2 separate regions of the Homo sapiens genome follow, and region 2 is linked to region 1. Evidence: promoter capture Hi-C in human tissues and cell types (Jung and others, 2019). All regions are on one chromosome and are shown on one strand. The core of a region is centred on a gene start or on the middle of the fragment in contact, and the rest is flanking DNA. Distances in the headings are between cores, read along the strand shown.

Evidence for each region. The method cuts DNA at HindIII sites, captures the fragments that hold promoters and counts their contacts. A contact is called where the count stands out against the background at its distance.
Region 2: a fragment that was not itself captured here is called in contact with the fragment with the promoter of MTA1 in region 1 in 3 of the 25 tissues and cell types used here (H1 embryonic stem cells, mesendoderm cells and pancreas).

The regions. Positions count from the first base shown.
Region 1 is chr14:105,418,005-105,422,519 of GRCh38, reverse strand. It overlaps MTA1 (metastasis associated 1), which reads right to left and starts at 2,693. Exons shown (of 21, transcript NM_004689.4): 1 at 2,457-2,693. The coding sequence starts at 2,484. MTA1-DT (MTA1 divergent transcript) reads left to right here and starts at 2,781. Exons shown (of 2, transcript NR_125385.1): 1 at 2,781-3,498; 2 at 4,211-4,515. RefSeq lists enhancers at 1-480, 481-1,148, 3,827-4,496 and silencers at 2,600-2,859, 2,950-2,999, 3,030-3,129. The HindIII fragment of the contact is 32,458 bases long and covers 1-4,515 here.
Region 2 is chr14:105,274,716-105,278,588 of GRCh38, reverse strand. All of the region lies in intron 2 of BRF1 (BRF1 general transcription factor IIIB subunit), which reads left to right. Among named protein-coding and RNA genes, the nearest start is that of BRF1, 24 kb to the left of the region's middle. RefSeq lists an enhancer at 3,486-3,873. The HindIII fragment of the contact is 6,963 bases long and covers 1-3,873 here.

The DNA.
Region 1 (4,515 bases), core at 1,444-3,943:
GGGTGGGGGGGCACAGGAGCAAGCCCCTTCCCAGGCTGGGTCCCTGCCGGCATCTCCCACAGGCCAGGACTGGCCACCCAGATGGAGCCCGTGCCAGGCAGCCGGCGACAGACGGACAAAGGCTGCTCAGGAGACACTGCACACCTTCCTCTTTCTTGTCTGGGGGCTCAAGAATCCAGACGCCCACCTCCCCGAGCGAGCACCAAGACAGGAAGCCAACCTGCAATGCCCAGCCCACTGCGACCACAGGGCTCTGCCGGGGTCCTGCCGGAACCCAGGGTTCCGGTCCAGAAGCCAGGGATAAATGCCGCTTCTCCTATAGGGACAGTCAGAGTAGAGAGGGGGAGGCCTACAGTCTCACCTGCAGGGAGAGGAAGTCCTCGGGGCGGGCACGTGGGGGGCCTGACAGCTCCGAGCACACCCGGCCACAGTGACCACGGACTGCACACGCAGAAGCAGTCTGGATCCCACGCGTGGCTGTGCTGCCAGCAGACAGCACCCAACCTCCCATGCTCCTCATCACAGGAAAAGAGACCAGCAGCATCTCTGCCAGGCATGGTGGGGCCCCTCCGCCACAGCCTAGGAGTCCAGGCCACCCACCCTCACAGCACTGGAGTGCGTGGGTCAGTGAGGCCCTGGGACGGGCCTGCGGGCACAGGGGGACAGAGGGTTCGGGGAGGGCGGCGCAGCCCCACGAAGGGCTCCTCCCAAGCCTGTGTGGGGCCCAGGGGAGCTGCACCTCCGGGATGGGACAAGGCAGGGTCCTGGCTTTCATCAGCCACAGCACAGCTGCCACAGGGCACAAAAGGACGGCTGAGAGACGAGGTCCTCACCCACACCATGGGGAAACCGAGGCATGGGAAGGTTGGAGGGGGGGCAGCCAGGCTGGCGCCAAGATCACAGGCAGGCAGGCCTGAAGGCCGAGCAATGCAGCCACTAGGAAGGCATGAGTTGGGGTCGGGGTGTCCCCAGCCCTAGAGCCCAAAGCTGCCACCACTCCCCACCCCCAACATGGGTGGGGGCAGGGAGAGCTCTTCTTGGGACCAATCCCAAAACCATGCGCAGTGGGCCCGGCTGGAGCCCAGGCAGCAGGCATCCTCTCTGCCAGGGTGAGAAACTGGGCCCTCATGTCAGGCTGGAAGGGGGGTCTCCAGGTGGGGAGAAAGAACAGGAAGGAACAGGCCCCTCCCTCGAGGGACCCCGCACCCAGGCTGCTCCCTGAGCGTGGGGTGGGCTCAGCGCACCTGGGTCCACACAGGGACCTGGCAAAGCTGTATGAGGCTGTGGGAGGGGCTGCCGCTGGATGGGGTACAGGCCCACCGCCCCTCTGAGAGGACAGGGGAGGCCCAGAGCTGCTGATGCGGACTGACCGCCCATCTCACAGACGGGATGTAGGGGGCTCCCACCGTCCCCAAGGTCACAGGACTGGCCGGCCAGACCACACGGCGTCCAAGGCAGCAGAAGCCACGCTCGAGAGACACAGAGTGTTCTGGGCACTCGGGGTCAGGGGCATGGGGATCAAGCCAGAGCGGGAGTGACCCCAGCTCCCTCCAGCAGCGCAGGCTGCAGGTGGGAAAGGTAATGAGCACCTGCCCGAGAGGGTCACAGGCAGGGAGGGGTCTCAGAGTCCTGGGGAGGGAGGCGCTGATGGAATGATGGAATGCACACGACCCCCCACCTTCCTGTGAAAGACCCCACGGAGTCCCAGGCACACGAAGGAGGGCAAGGCTCAAAGCTGCAGGCCCGGGGGGCCCGAGCAACAGGAGGCTGGGCCCACGGAGGAAGCCCCTGCCCAGGAGGCCCTCCGGCCTCTCCCCAACCCTTGCAAAGCGCCTCCCGAATGGGCTGAGGTGAGCGAGAGGCAGGGAAAAGTTTGGGGGGACTTAGAGGCGTGCTCGGGATGCTCGCTCCCTGCTGAAGACCCCCTGAGGGATCCCTGCTGGGGGAAGCCCCGGGGCCAGGCTGCAGGAGGGCTCTAGGGAGGAACGTGGCCCCTCACCGGGGCTCCCCATCCCCAGAGGGGATGCACCGGAGTCCCAGCACAGGGCCGCGGGCCGGGGGAGACCCCACAGCCCCAAAACTCCTGCTCCCAGACCGGCAGCCGGCGCCTCCCAAGGCCACGTGCTCCCGCTGGGGGCTCCCGGCCCCGGACCCCCGGATGTCCCGCAGGCCCCGCGCCCCCCCGCCACCCCCGCGGCCGCCCCCTCGGCCCCAACAGGTGGGCCGCCCCCCACCCCCGGGCCGCCGAGCCCCGCCCGCCCCCGATGGGGCCGACCCGCGGGGCCATTTTGGGTTGGGGTGAGCACGGCGGGGGGCGGTTCGGGAAGGAGCCGGGGGCCGCGAGGGCGGGCGGGGGGCGCGGGGCCTGCGGGGCAGAGGGGCGGGGGAGGCGGCAGCGGCGGCGGGTGGGGGCTGCGGGCGGGTCGGGGCCGGGCATAAAGGCGGTGCGGCCTTACCTCCGACCCTGTACATGTTGGCGGCCATGTCCGGGCCGGCGGCGGCGGAGGGGCCCGGGGCGGGCGCGGCGCTCGGCGCGGGCGGCCGGGAAAATGGAGGCGCGATGGCGGGGGCGGGGGGCGCCGCAGGCGTTTAAAGGGGCCGCGCTGCTGCCGCCGCCGCCGCCGCCGCCGCCGCCGAGGCCGCCGAGGCCGCGCAGGGACGGGAGGGCCGCGGCGCGGGCGGGAGAGGAAGAGGAGGAGCGGCCGCGGGCGGCGGGGAGGGGCCTCGGGCGCCGCCGCCCACCGCACGGGCCGTTACCGACCCCGCGCCGCCCGCGGCCCGCGCGCCCCTTCCCGGACAGTTCCTCTCGGCGCCCCCGAGTCCTCCCCGCGCGCCGCTTCCCGGGTGGGCCCTTCCACCAGAACCCCCTGGTAGATCCTCCCCTGGTGCCCTGGGGGTAGAGGGGAGATCCTCCACAAGGGCCATTTCCCTGGTGATCCCTCCCTGTGCCCCACAGGTGAGTCCTGCCGTAGCTCTCCAGGGGTTCCTCCTGATGCTGGGGTCCTCCGGCATTCCTCCCTGAGCCCCCCAAGGGCCCTGAAGCTCAGCGGCCCAGCCCTGGCCTCGGGGTCCCCACCCCACACCTCCCTTCCAGGCCTAACCTTTGCCCCCGACACCAGGCAGGGCGTGTCCTTGGCCTTCGCCGCCCAGCCCGCGTGGCATCTCTGGACAGGTGGTCGTGCGCGCCTTGGTGTGGGCAGGCTCCGTAGCCGGCAAAGCCTCCCTGAACCGTGACCTGGTGAGAAGGCCGCAGAGGAGGTGCCTGTGCCCAGAGGCCACCTCCAAAGACCCCACCTGAGGCTGGAACCCAGCGCCTGCTGACCCCGCCAGCCCCAACAGGGCTGGAGTCCAGGAGCGGCCGTGCTCTTTCCGCAGTGAGGCAGCTGCCTTCTCTTCCCACCACCTGTCAGGATGCCTTCCCGTGTGTGCTTGTGCACAGGTCTAAGGAGAGGAGAGTCCAGTGAGTGACCCAGACGCCCCAGCCAGGAAGAGCATGAGGTGCGAAGGGGGCTTCCCAGATGGAGAGAAACAGATGGTCCCAGAGTGGCTTGGAGACAGGTGCAACATCAGTGTTGGGGGAGGTGAGCAAAAGGAGCTGTCTCGGGGTTCCAGGCTGCTGATGTGAGCAGCACCGTGGGTCTCTGTCCTGCCTGCTCAGATGCTGGAGGGAGCTGACATCTACTTGGGACATCCCTCTCTGTAGGACATGGAGCGGAGCGTTCAGGGCTATCAGGAGGGAGCCCCGTGGCCACGGTGCAAGATCTAGGCAGGCGGGACAGACATGGTCAGGATGCTGGGGACACAGCATGGGGAATCCAGCACACAGGACACCATCCAGGTGGGTAGGAAACAGCATGTGCTGGGAGGAAAGCCAGGTGGGGGTCCCAAGGAGAGCGGTGGCCACAATGTCATGGCTGCAGAGCAGACCAGTAAGGAAAGCCCCACCAGGGTTAGCACAGGGCCAGGAACCCGAGCTGCAGGGCGGTGCTGTCTCTGGGGAGAGAGGGCTATGGGTCCCAGGACACATCCTGCGGGCTGGGCTGCAGGGAACAGGAGCTGGCTTGCTGGTGATTGGGAGGGAAGAGCAGCCAGCCAGCGGCCAGGTGCAGGAGAGGGGCAATGACAGACAGGCAGCGTCTCTCCAGAAGGAAGGTGGGGCTGCTGGCCTCCCCTGTCCTACAGCCCCAGCCTACCTCTGTCTCCTCAGCAGGAAAGCAAAGCTGCAGCCTGAGATCTCCTTCCACCAACTCCTGGCATGGCCAGAAAGTTAGCCAGAAACACCAGAAAGTGCCAGGCAGCTAGGAAGCATGGGGAGAGCCCCCTGAAGCTGCGTGTGTAGTGCCTGCTTCCGCTGCCATCCCAGAAATGGACGAGCTTCACCCTGAGAACCCAGCCACACCACTGGGACACATCCTGACAGTGACATGCACACTCTTCCCTGGCCCCAGCCTGGAGAGGAGCCTCCTGAAGACACCAGCCTTTGCTCCTTCTCCCAGTGGGAGTGGAGAGAACTGA
Region 2 (3,873 bases), core at 320-2,819, 140 kb after region 1:
CAGTTTTTATGGTTAGGGCTGTTTGTGACTTGTTCAAGAAATTCTTATCTACTCCAAGGTCTGAAGATACTCTTGTGTTTTCCTCTGGAAGCTTTATTGCTTTATACTTTACATGTAAGTGGTGATATGCCTCAAATCTTTTTTTTTTTTTTTGGAGACAGGGTCTCGCTCTCTTGCTGCCCAGGCTGGACTGCAGTGGCAGGATCATGGCTCACTGCAGCCTCAACCTTCCAAGCTCAAGCAGTCCTCCTACCTTGGCTGGGCCTACAGGCTTGCACCACCACACCTGGCTGATTATTTTAGCAGTTGGATCTCACTATGTTGCCCAGGCTGGTCTTGAACTTCTGGGCTCAAGTGATCTACCTGCTTCAGCCTCCCGAAGTGCTGGGATTACTACAGGCATGAGCCACGGCACACAGCCTGAGTTTACTTTTAGAATTCATTTGTTGGAAGGAAGTCTAAGGAGACTCGCAGGCTATGGCTAGCTAATTAGTAGTTGGTTTCTATGTGAATATCTGTTTATTAATAACATATTTGGCCAGGCACAGTGGCTCATGCTTGTATCCCAGCACTTTGGGAGGCGGAGATGGGTGGATCACAAGGTCAGGAGTTCGAGACCATCCTGGCCAACAGTGTGAAACCCTGTCTGTACTAAAAATACAAAAAATTAGCTGGGTGCAGTGGCATGTGCCTGTAGTCCCAGCTACTCAAGAGGCTGAGGCAGGAGAATCACTTGAACCCGGGAAGCAGAGGTTGCAGTGAGCTGAGATCGCACCACTGCACTCTAGCCTGGGTGACAGAGCGAGACTCCATCTCAAAAAAGAGAAAGAAGATGGTAAAAAATAACTTACTGCAGTCATCATAAGCCCCCATTTTAGTCCTTTTGGGCTGCTGTAACAGAACACCATAGACCAGAAAGGCAAAACAGCAGGAATGTGTTTCTCACACTTTTGGAGCTGGAAAGTTTGAGCTGGAGATGGGGGAGACAGTTGCCTCCTCCCCAGCTCTCTAGTGAGGGCCGCCTCTCAGCTCCTTCTCACTGTGGCCTCCTCCCCAGCTCTCTAGTGAGGGCCGCCTCTCAGCTCCTTCTCACTGTGGCCTCCTCCCCAGCTCTCTAGTGAGGGCCCCCTCTCAGCTCCTTCTCACTGTGGCCTCCTCCCCAGCTCTCTAGTGAGGGCCGCCTCTCGGCTCCTTCTCACTGTGGCCTCCTCCCCAGCTCTCTAGTGAGGGCCCCCTCTCAGCTCCTTCTCACTGTGGCCTCCTCCCCAGCTCTCTAGTGAGGGCCGCCTCTCGGCTCCTTCTCACTGTGGCCTCCTCCCCAGCTCTCTAGTGAGGGCCCCCTCTCAGCTCCTTCTCACTGTGGCCTCCTCCCCAGCTCTCTAGTGAGGGCCCCCTCTCAGCTCCTTCTCACTGTGGCCTCCTCCCCAGCTCCCTAGTGAGGGCCCCCTCTCGGCTCCTTCTCACTGTGGCCTCCTCCCCAGCTCTCTAGTGAGGGCCGCCTCTCGGCTCCTTCTCACTGTGGCCTCCTCCCCAGCTCTCTAGTGAGGGCCGCCTCTCGGCTCCTTCTCACTGTGGCCTCCTCCCCAGCTCTCTAGTGAGGGCCCCCTCTCAGCTCCTTCTCACTGTGGCCTCCTCCCCAGCTCCCTAGTGAGGGCCCCCTCTCGGCTCCTTCTCACTGTGGCCTCCTCCCCAGCTCTCTAGTGAGGGCCGCCTCTCGGCTCCTTCTCACTGTGGCCTCCTCCCCAGCTCTCTAGTGAGGGCCGCCTCTCGGCTCCTTCTCACTGTGGCCTCCTCCCCAGCTCTCTAGTGAGGGCCGCCTCTCAGCTCCTTCTCACTGTGGCCTCCTCCCCAGCTCTCTAGTGAGGGCCGCCTCTCGGCTCCTTCTCACTGTGGCCTCCTCCCCAGCTCTCTAGTGAGGGCCGCCTCTCAGCTCCTTCTCACTGTGGCCTCCTCCCCAGCTCTCTAGTGAGGGCCCCCTCTCGGCTCCTTCTCACTGTGGCCTCCTCCCCAGCTCTCTAGTGAGGGCCGCCTCTCGGCTCCTTCTCACTGTGGCCTCCTCCCCAGCTCTCTAGTGAGGGCCCCCTCTCGGCTCCTTCTCACTGTGGCCTCCTCCCCAGCTCTCTAGTGAGGGCCGCCTCTCGGCTCCTTCTCACTGTGGCCTCCTCCCCAGCTCTCTAGTGAGGGCCCCCTCTCAGCTCCTTCTCACTGTGGCCTCCTCCCCAGCTCTCTAGTGAGGGCCGCCTCTCGGCTCCTTCTCACTGTGGCCTCCTCCCCAGCTCTCTAGTGAGGGCCGCCTCTCGGCTCCTTCTCACTGTGGCCTCCTCCCCAGCTCTCTAGTGAGGGCCCCCTCTCGGCTCCTTCTCACTGTGGCCTCCTCCCCAGCTCTCTAGTGAGGGCCGCCTCTCGGCTCCTTCTCACTGTGGCCTCCTCCCCAGCTCTCTAGTGAGGGCCGCCTCTCGGCTCCTTCTCACTGTGGCCTCCTCCCCAGCTCTCTAGTGAGGGCCCCCTCTCAGCTCCTTCTCACTGTGGCCTCCTCCCCAGCTCTCTAGTGAGGGCCGCCTCTCAGCTCCTTCTCACTGTGGCCTCCTCCCCAGCTCTCTAGTGAGGGCCCCCTCTCAGCTCCTTCTCACTGTGGCCTCCTCCCCAGCTCTCTAGTGAGGGCCGCCTCTCAGCTCCTTCTCACTGTGGCCTCACGTGGTAGAAGAGCTGGGCTAGTTCTCTGGGGTCCGGTTTTTAAGGGCACTGAGCTCATCATTAGTGCTCTGCCTCCTGACCTAGTCTCCCGCAAAGGCCCTGCATCTTAATACCATCCCCGTAGGGGATAGGATTTCAACATAGGAATTTTAGGAGTCAGACATTCTGACCATAGCAGCCCTGCATGCTGGGAACACGAGCTGGTGCCTGTGGGGTCGGGGCTTGGGATCGAGTCCCAGCCTCAAGTGTGTGGCCTCAGAGAGTACCTCTCTCTTACCTTTTATTACAGAATTTTCAAACATACAGCAGAGAGCTGGTAGGTAAGGAGCCGTAGCTTCAGCGGGTCCCCTGTCAGCTGACTCTGTTTCCCTCTGGGCCTTGCTGGGCCGCGGGGACGGTCTGTGCTGGTGTGTCTGGCTGGTGCTGCACATGTGCAGGTGGCAGCTGGCACGATGCCCTTTCTGTCCATTCTTTTGGGGTCTTGGCTTGGCCCAGGCCTCAGCTCTGGGGACAGTGACCAGCCTTCCACGTCAGCTCAGCTGGACTGCAGGCCTCAGAGCTGTATGAGCTCTAGGCAGGTGGCCTTAGGTGCTCAAGGTGGCAGGGCCACAGCCGGGCTGGGGGCTCCATGTGATGCTGCTGACTGCCAGGGGCCTGGCAGTGTGAGGCTTGACCTGGACCTGCCAGACTGTGTACCCTGGCCACCGGCTTCCTTGGGATGCAGGCTCAGCAGCTGCCCACCTCTGGCTGCTGGTCATCATTAGTGAAGTTTGGCGTGAGCAAAACATCAGCCCTCACTTTCTCCAGCTCATGTGCCCTTATCAAATAAATCTGGGAGGTCAGTTTTTGACTTTATATGGGGATGGAGGCCGCCTCAGGTAGTCTTTGCAGGAGGACTGTGGGTTTGGGTGCCAGAGGATGCAGTGGGAACTGGAATCTCCATGGCGGCAGCATTCCTCTGCATCGAGCCGTGACCCACCACACATGTCCTCTGGGTACCCCATGGGGCTAATTGCCTGGAGCAAGGACTCTGCCTGCCCACGACGCCCACTGTGCAGACAGAAGTGGGGGCAGTAAAGTTGGCTCAGGTGCTCCCCACACAGCCTGTGCTCTGCAGACAGAAGTGGGGGCAGTGAGGTTGGCCCAGGTGCTCCCCACACAGCCTGTGCTCTGCAGACA